3 separate regions of the Homo sapiens genome follow, and regions 2 and 3 are each linked to region 1. Evidence: promoter capture Hi-C in 16 types of primary human blood cells and fetal thymus (Javierre and others, 2016). All regions are on one chromosome and are shown on one strand. Each heading gives the region's core, a stretch centred on a gene start or on the middle of the fragment in contact. The rest is flanking DNA. Distances are from core to core; before and after follow the strand shown. Region 1 holds the start of RHOT2 (ras homolog family member T2). Region 2 overlaps LOC107984906 (a long non-coding RNA gene). Region 3 has its middle 5.9 kb from the start of CACNA1H.

Region 1 (2,528 bases), core at 29-2,528:
AGCCTTCCCTAAAACCTGCCTCCAGCCTGGTGTTGGCAGAGCAGGCACTCCCCAGTGTCACACTGGGAGCTGCTGCTGAACCCTCAGAGAAGCCTCTTCCCCGCCCACTGCCAGTGCAGGGACACCAGGCCCCAGAAGCATAACTGTGGTCAGCAAGACCCTTGGAGCAGAGGGCTCAGGACAGACACGGCCACACCTGCAACCCAACACCCTGCAAGACAGCCGCCGCCTTGGCCCCTGCCTCCCCCCTCGCTACAGACAGAGTGACAGGACCGCAGTGAGGGGTGCCAACAGCAGGGGCTGCCCTGGGTGGCTGTGGCCTGTGCCCTTGCCTGGAGATGTCCCCGGCACACGTGCTCTGGTACTGGGAGCTCCGGGTGCCCGGAGGCCGGGACGGTGGGCTGGAGCACACAGCACGGGGACGTGGCGCACACAGAGCCCACAGGAAGAGCAAACGCTGCTGCCACCCCGGCAGGAGGGAGGGAGAGCCCGCGGGGAAGGGTCCTGTTATCCCTGGAGCACCACTGGACTGAGCGGTGCCGGCTCCCAGCGGGGTGCGCTGTAGGGGCCCCGACAACCCTCAGTGCGGAGGTCACAGAATTATCAGGGCCAAGGACACCCGGAGCACCTCGGTCCAATCCCCCAGGCTGCGAAGCGGATTAGGCCGAGCCCGCGCCCAGCCCCTCCCTCGTCCCGCGCACCACGGGTACCTTGTGGATCTCCTCCCGCAGCTCCTCGTCCGTCTGCTCGGCTTCTAGGGGGACAAAGAGACTCCACTGCGGACCCAGCAGGCCCGCCGGACCGCTGCGGGCCGGGCCCCCGGGAGGCTACGGCCGCTACCTGAGTAGTCCACGATGTGGGTGGGCACCTTCTCCGGGGTGACGTCCGCGGGGATGGTGATCTCCTCCGCGCGGGGAGGGACCTGCAAGGGACCCGCGCGCTCACCAGGGACCCCCGGCTGGGCCCGCTCCCACCCCCGCGGCGGGCGTGCCCCTTACCTCCTCGGGGAACTCCTCGCCCACCAGGGACAGGATCAGCGACGTCTTCCCCACCTGGGCTGCGCGGGGCGAGGCGGTCAGCGCGAGGGCCAAGGTCACGGCGCCCCCCGACCCCCGAGACCCTCACCCCGCCTCACGGCCGCCGCAGCTCCGAGACCCCCGGGCCGGCGCCTACCCTCGCCCAGTAACAGGATGCGCACGTCCCGCCTCATAGCTGCCGCCCGGAGCCGCTCCCCGACCCGGAACCCGGCCCCGACCTGGTCCTCAAGCCTTTCGCTCTGCCCCCGCGCCCGCCCCGCACTTCCGGTTCTCGGCCCCGCGCTGTCCCCACACTTCCGGCCCCGCCCGCACAGCCGCACCAGCGAGCCGGGCGGGCCAGAGCGGACAGGCTGTGCGGCGCGCCACCGTGTGGACGCGCCGGCCACGGCGGACAGCGCAGGGTCCTGGCGCCCTGGCAGGCCGAGCGGCCATTGCTTCACGGCACCACAGGGGCCTTGACAAACAGCCGATTAAGGGACGGGCAGAGGCTGAGCTCAGGCCAGGAGTGACCAGAGACAGCCAGTGCAACAATGCAGCAATAATGCAATAAATGCCCATGTTTATTACAAGATAGAAACATTAAAGATTTCTTAGGCAAAAGGGCAACAGGTATGAAAGTATTCACAGGGCGCCAAATTTACAACAGCTTGCTCCAGGCGATTTACGTGAATCCTGGCCTGTCCCAGCATGAGGCCATTGACAACCTGGCGCCTCTGCCAAGCCTGTGTCCAGGTGCCTGGCATGACCAGGCGTGATGCCCACCACCACAGTCCCTGCTGCATCTCAGAGGCCGGGGACCTCCCACACAAGGATCTCGTTGCGGGCGGCCGTGAAGAGCAGCCTGGCGGACGGTGTAAACCTGCACAGGTGCACTGCGTTGTCGTGGCCGGCAAAGTCTTGGGCAGTCCCCATGGCACAGTCTACCAGCCTCAGCATGCACTCTGTGGGTAGACGGTGCAGGTGGGCCAGGGCCAGGACCAGGCAGCACTCAGAGGGCTCCCCCAACCCACCCAGACTGTCCCCACTGGGCATGATGCTGGTCGGGGGAGCTGGTGCTAAAAGGGCTCCTGGCTGTGCCCTCCACGTGCCACTGGGACTAGGGGGTCCATCACTGCCAGGCTGTCGGCCTGCAGCTGGGCCAGTTCCCTCCTTAAAAGTCGCTGCCACCCGTGCATTCAGGCCCTGTGCTGGGCGCTGTGCCTGGTTCCTCACCTGCCTCATCATCTCCTGACTCCAGGACCCTCTCTAGGGCAGATGTCCTCACCCCACCCCAGAGACGAGGAGCCCGGGGCACAGGTGAGGCACCTGTCTTGGAACAGGGCACCAGTCAGCCCACTTGGCCCCCACCTAAGACAGGCCCAAACTGCATCCACCAGCACTCACCAGCAAAGCCAACAGCCAGGAGGTGGGTCCCGGGGGACAGGCTCAGGGACATGGCAAAAAAGGGCAGTGGTATCTTCTCCACCACCTGTGAGCAGCCAGCGTGAGGCT
Region 2 (2,700 bases), core at 8-2,507, 440 kb before region 1:
TCTGGCCAGCTTCTGGGGGTCCATTCCAGGCCCAGCCTCTCTGCTGCTGGATGCCGGCAGCCTCTGGCTGTCTCGGGCATCGGCTGCAACGGTGTCCCTCCTGTCGCTGCATCCTGACAAGCAGCTGCTTGAACTCCTCCAGGGTCGGAGGGCTCACTCCCTGCGGGATGCACAGCCTTCAGCCCATCGCTGTGTAACTAGAGTGCCTGGTGGCCGCATACCCCACCTCCTGGCACAAGCCGTGCCTCCCGTAGGCCTCTCTGCTCTTGGGGTCTAGACCTCCCTGGGACTGCGCCTGACCCGTGGGGGGACACACAGCCTCTTTCCACTGTTTTCCAATGATAATTTCACTGCGATGTAGCTTGGTACAAATGCCTTTTTCCTTGTATTTAAAAAGCTTCCCCCTCATTTGCAGTCATTTCCTAGGGCTGTGTTCAAAGGCTAGAGTTGCCCACTCAGGTGTGGGAACGGGTTACGTCTCTGGAGCGCGCACTACAGTTTTTTCTAGAAAGCAGGACCGGCCGGGCACGGTGGCTCATGCCTGTCATCCCAGCACTTTGTAAGGCCAAGGTGGGTGGATCATGAGGTCAGGAGTCCAAGACCAACCTGGCCAAGATGGTGAAACCCCGTCTCTACTAAAAATACAAAAGAATTAGCCAGGTGTGGTGGTGGGTGCCTGTAATCTCAGCTACTCAGGAGACTGAAACAGAGAATTGCTTGAACCTGGGAGGTGGAGGCTGAAGTGAGCCGAGATCATGTCACTGCACTCCAGCCTGGGTGACAGAGCAAGACTCCGTCTCAAAAAAAAAAAAAAAGACACCAGGAAGGCGGAGCTTGCCCTCTCACGTTGCCAGGGGTCCATTCCCATGTTTTGAAAGTCACGGTCTTTAAGGCTTTTCAGGTGGGTTTTAGCAGGATTTTAAAAATAATTGGCCCAGTGTAGTGGCTCACGACTGTAATCCCAGAACTTCAGGAGGCCAAGGTGGGTGGATCTCTTGAGCTCAGAAGTCTGAGACCACCCTGGGCAACCCTGTCTCTGCAAAATATATAAAAATTAGCTGAGTGCGGTGGCAGGTGCCTGTAGTTCCAGCTACTTGGGAGGCTGAGATGGGAGACTCGCCTGAGACTATGAGTTTGAGGCTGCAGTGAGCCGCCATTGCACCAGTGTGCTCCAGCCTGGGCCACAGAGTGAGACCCTGTCTCAAAAAAATAATAATGATATACCCAAATGGGTTGAAAACGGGTCTTCAGACAAAAACGTGCACAGACATGATTACCAGAGTGCAGCTCACAGTCTCCACAGTGCAAACACAACTCAGCCAGGAGAGGGGACCGGCCTCAAGTCACCACATCAGGGCGGAGCGGGACACAGAGGACCACATGCTTGAGACTCCTCTTCCACACTGTGCTCAGAGCAGTGAGTTGCGGTTCCCAGCATCTGGGGAGATGGGAGTAACCACGCATGGGCTGAGGGCTTCCTTTTGGGGATGGCAACGAAAGATTCTGGAACCAGATGGCAGCGATGGTTGCACAGTGCTACGAATGTGCCAGACGCCACCACACTGCACGCTTTACGGCAGTTAAAACGGTGAGGTTTCTGTTACGTGATTTACACCAGAATAAAACCATAGCGGTGGCCGCGAGCGGGGGCTCACGCCTGGAATCCCAGCATTCTGGGAGGCTGAACGGGTGGATCATGAGATCCGGAGATCGAGACTAGCCTGGCCAACATGGTGAAACCCTGTCTCTACTAAAAATACAAAAATTAGCCAGGCGTGATGGTGGGCGCCTATAGTCCCAGCTTCTCAGGAGGCCGAGGCAGGAGAATTGTTTGAACCCAGGAAGCGGAGATTGAAGTGAGCTGAGATCACACCACTACACTCCAGCCTGGGCGACAGCACAAGACTCCATCTCAGAAAAAAACAAAACCAAAAAACAAAAAAACAGTGATGATAGTGACGATGATAACAAATGCTTCTCAGGCACCTGCCGCCTGTCGGGCACTGTTCTGTGTCTACCTTCACTCCCAGGCCATGCCCTCACTGTCACTGACTTATGGATGGAAGGCCCAGGCACTGCAGGCAGCTGGCACAGCTGAGGTAGGAAAGTCAAGCTTCCCTGCGTGCTGGCGGGTGGGCGTGGGCTGCAGCAGAACCTGCCTGGGCCTCAGCCCCCTGCCCCTGTTCCCCTGCCCTTTCCTCTCTGTCCCACTCCGTTCCACCAGGCAGAAGTTTCTTCGTGAAGTCACTTTCATATCTATGAGACCATCCATCTTGCTTCCAACGATTCCTCCAATCCCTTCAACACTCAGACATTTATCTTCCCGCTGCAGTCGGGATCTGCAGTCAGGATCAGCGTGTGATCTCATCTCACCCTGGAGTTTTATGGCTCCCTCTGAACGTGGTTTAACTCGGCCGTATCTGGAAGGCCGGTTCCGGGTGGGTGGTGAAGGTGAATGGGACGGCGTCGGGCTTGTCCCCGCGGCCTGGGACTTCCCCAGGTAGGGAGCCAGCATAGCCCCGGGGGGACCTCGGATGGGGAGCCTGTGGGACCGTCACCCTACCTGGCCCTGCGTGCCCAGCCTCCTCTCCCTCCACCAAGCACGCCCAGGACTTTCCCTGGAGGAAACTGCACACCTTCCTGCTTCACCCGCAAACACCCAGGAGGGAGGAACTGTCCTGGTCTCCATTCTGCAGCGGG
Region 3 (2,802 bases), core at 260-2,759, 480 kb before region 1:
CAGCGCCGTCTAGACGCCGCTCACCCTTCTCACCTTCGCAGTTGTCTGTGTGGAAGACGGGAGAGGCAGGGGCACCACGCCACTGTCCCCAAGACCGGCCCCCAGGCACTGCGCGGAAGAGGCCGTGGCCTGTGAGGTGGCCCTTCCCTGCCCTGGACAGGCTGTGGAGGGGCTGCAGGCGGAGGCTGGGCTTGGGAGTGCTTGAAGGATCACTGGGCTGTGGAGGGGCCCGCAGGCCGCCTGGGGACCTGGGGAGGGAAGCTCCGGGCCTTTCTCTGGCTCTGCAGACGCACGGCCTGGGTTCAAATGCCAGCTCCACCACTTCCTGGCTGTGTGGCCTTGGACATGTGTCTTACCCTCTCTGAGCCTTAAATTTCCTTCTCTGGAAAATCAATGCTTCATCAAATAAAAAGTGATCATGAACAGGCAGTTCCTCAAATGATTAAATATGGAATTACCATGCAACCTGGCAATTTCTGTTCCGGGTGTGCCCAAGAGGAATGAAAATGTGTGTCCACACAGAACTGTGGACTCGGGTGTCCACAGCAGCATCGTTCACAAAAGCCAAAGGTGTAGACATCCCAAGTATCCCACAGATAAGCAGATAAAATGTGGCCTCTTCATATGGTGGAATATTATTCAGCCATGAAAAGGAATGACACAGCCGGGCGCGGTGGCTCACACCTGTAATCCCAGCACTTTGGGAGGCTGAGGCAGGCAGATCAGGAGGTTGGGAGTTTGAGACCGGCCTGATCAACATGATCAACACGGAGAAACTCTGTCTCTACTAAAAATACAAAAATTAGCCGGGCATGGTGGTGGGCGCCTGTAGTCCCAGCTACTCAGAAGGTTGAGGCAGGAGAATCGCTTGAACCCGGGAGGTGGGGCTTGCAGTGAGTAGAGATCACGCCGTTGCGCTCCAGCCTGGGCAACAGAGCAACATTCTGTCTCAAAAAAAATGACATTCTGACACACGTGGATGAACATTGAAGACATCACACCAAGTGAAATAAGCCAGACACAAAATGACAAACATCATAGGATCATTAGATGAGATTTTCAGCACAGGTAAATCCATAGAACAAAGAGGGGTGGCTGCCAAGGGCTGGGGGAGGGGGGGTGGGGGAGGGGAGACGTCTAGCAAGCAGAGGGTTTGTTTGGTTTGGATGTGTGGCCCCCCCTCCAAATCTCATGTTGAAACGTGACTTCCAGGGTTGGAAGTGGGCCTGGTGGGAGGTGTCTGCACCAGGGGCGGATTCCTCAGGAGTGGCTTGCTGCTGTCCAGTGATGATGAGTGCTTTCTTGCTCCAGTAGTTCACACAGCAGCTGGCACCTCCTCCTCTCCCTGGCACCCTCTCCCTCCATGTGACTTTTGGGTTCTCCTTCCTTTCTGCCATGATTGGAAGCTTCCTGAGGCCTCCCCAGAAGCAGATACCTGCGCTGTACTTCCTATACAGCCTGTAGGACCGTGAGCCAAATCAACTTCTTTTCTTTAGAGATCACCCAGTCCCAAGCATTCCTTTACAACAACACGAAACAGACTAACACAGAAAGGGGTTTATTTTAGGGCGGTGACAGTTGACACCACCATAAAAGCTGCAATCCAAGCTTTTATGGGGGCCAGGCAGGAAGATCATTTGAGCCCAAGAATTTGAGACCAGCCTGGGCAACATACTGAGACCCAACCCCGTCTCTACAAAAAAAAAAAAAAAAAAAATGAAATAAAATTAGCCAGGTGTGGTGGTGGTGCCTGTGATCTCAGCTACTCGAGAGGCTGAGGTAGGAGGATCACTTGACTCTGAGGGGTCGAGGCTGCAGTGAGTGGAGATTGTGCCACTGCACTCCAGCCTGGGCGACAGAGCGAGACCTGCAGAGACGGCTGCACCGCTGGGTGCACTGAAAACTCACCCATAAGTGGGTGAGCCGTCCGTCCGTGTGTGAGCTCCGCCTCAGGCTGTGAAAGCAGTCATGAAGGATGGGAGCCCGCACGTGACAAAGGCTCAGAAAGAGGGAGGCCATTTTTAACAGCTCCCTGTGGGGGCGGAGCCAGAGGGCGTGGCCTCATGGGAGGAGACAGAACCCAGGATGGAGCTGGGCTGGGGGAGCAGAGCCTTCAGCCTGTCCCTTGGGGTCCGCAGGATCTCGGAGGCCCTAGGGGTGGGGCTGCCTCTGGCCTGGGCCAAGGCCTTGAGGCCGGGGTGGACACGTCTGGTTCAGTCTCCTGGACCCAAATGTGTCAGGGAAGCCTCCTCCGAGGGCATGGGGGGCAGGGAGCTGAGTCTGGGGTGTGTGGGGGTGGGCAGAGGGCACGTGCCTGGCAGCACCCAACTCTGCCTGAGCTGCTGAATCCCCCGGATCACTGTGGAGTGGGAAGGAGGAGGGGTTGACCTGGGAGGGAAAGTGACAGGATGGGGTGAGCCCAGGCCGGGTGCTTCCAGACAGACTTCAAGGGGCCGTGGAAGGCGCAAAGCAGACATGGGTGCCCCTCTCCCCTGCTTGGTTCCCTCACCAGCCCCCAGCTCTGCACAGCCCCTCTGCTTGCAGGAAGGGCTGAGCTGGTGCAGAGTCACGGGGTCCTTTCTTAGGGAGTCCTCAAGAGGTAATGCAGCAGGTCCCCCAGATCCCAGGTCTGGCCACCAGACCACCCTCAACACCCCCACCTCGCCCTACCCCAGCCCAGGCCCAGCCCCGGGAGCTCCAAGGAGATCCACACAAGAGGAGCCCCTGAAACGTGGGTCTGCAGGCAGCCCCGGGTCCGTCACCCCTCCAACCCTCAGGTGCCGGGTGCCCCAGCTCTCGGCT

What was found. Contacts are between HindIII fragments. The CHiCAGO score rates a contact against its expected background, and 5 or more counts as called.
Region 2: a fragment that was not itself captured here is called in contact with the fragment with the promoter of RHOT2 in region 1 in 1 of 17 cell types (naive B cells); the score reaches 5.2 in naive B cells.
Region 3: a fragment that was not itself captured here is called in contact with the fragment with the promoter of RHOT2 in region 1 in 1 of 17 cell types (naive B cells); the score reaches 5.7 in naive B cells.

What each region holds. Positions count from the first base shown.
Region 1 is chr16:666,882-669,409 of GRCh38, reverse strand. It overlaps RHOT2 (ras homolog family member T2), which reads right to left and starts at 1,278. Exons shown (of 19, transcript NM_138769.3): 1 at 1,174-1,278; 2 at 999-1,057; 3 at 841-922; 4 at 711-754. The coding sequence starts at 1,210. It overlaps WDR90 (WD repeat domain 90), which reads right to left. Exons shown (of 41, transcript NM_145294.5): 40 at 2,421-2,505; 41 at 1,580-1,978. The coding sequence ends at 1,821. RefSeq lists silencers at 811-900, 1,001-1,100, 1,161-1,500 and an enhancer at 886-1,567. The HindIII fragment of the contact is 48,981 bases long and covers 1-2,528 here.
Region 2 is chr16:1,109,518-1,112,217 of GRCh38, reverse strand. It overlaps LOC107984906 (a long non-coding RNA gene), which reads right to left. Exons shown (of 2, transcript XR_007064936.1): 1 at 1-2,700. Among named protein-coding and RNA genes, the nearest start is that of C1QTNF8, 15 kb to the right of the region's middle. The HindIII fragment of the contact is 1,716 bases long and covers 400-2,115 here.
Region 3 is chr16:1,145,845-1,148,646 of GRCh38, reverse strand. No RefSeq gene overlaps it. Among named protein-coding and RNA genes, the nearest start is that of CACNA1H, 5.9 kb to the left of the region's middle. The HindIII fragment of the contact is 202 bases long and covers 1,409-1,610 here.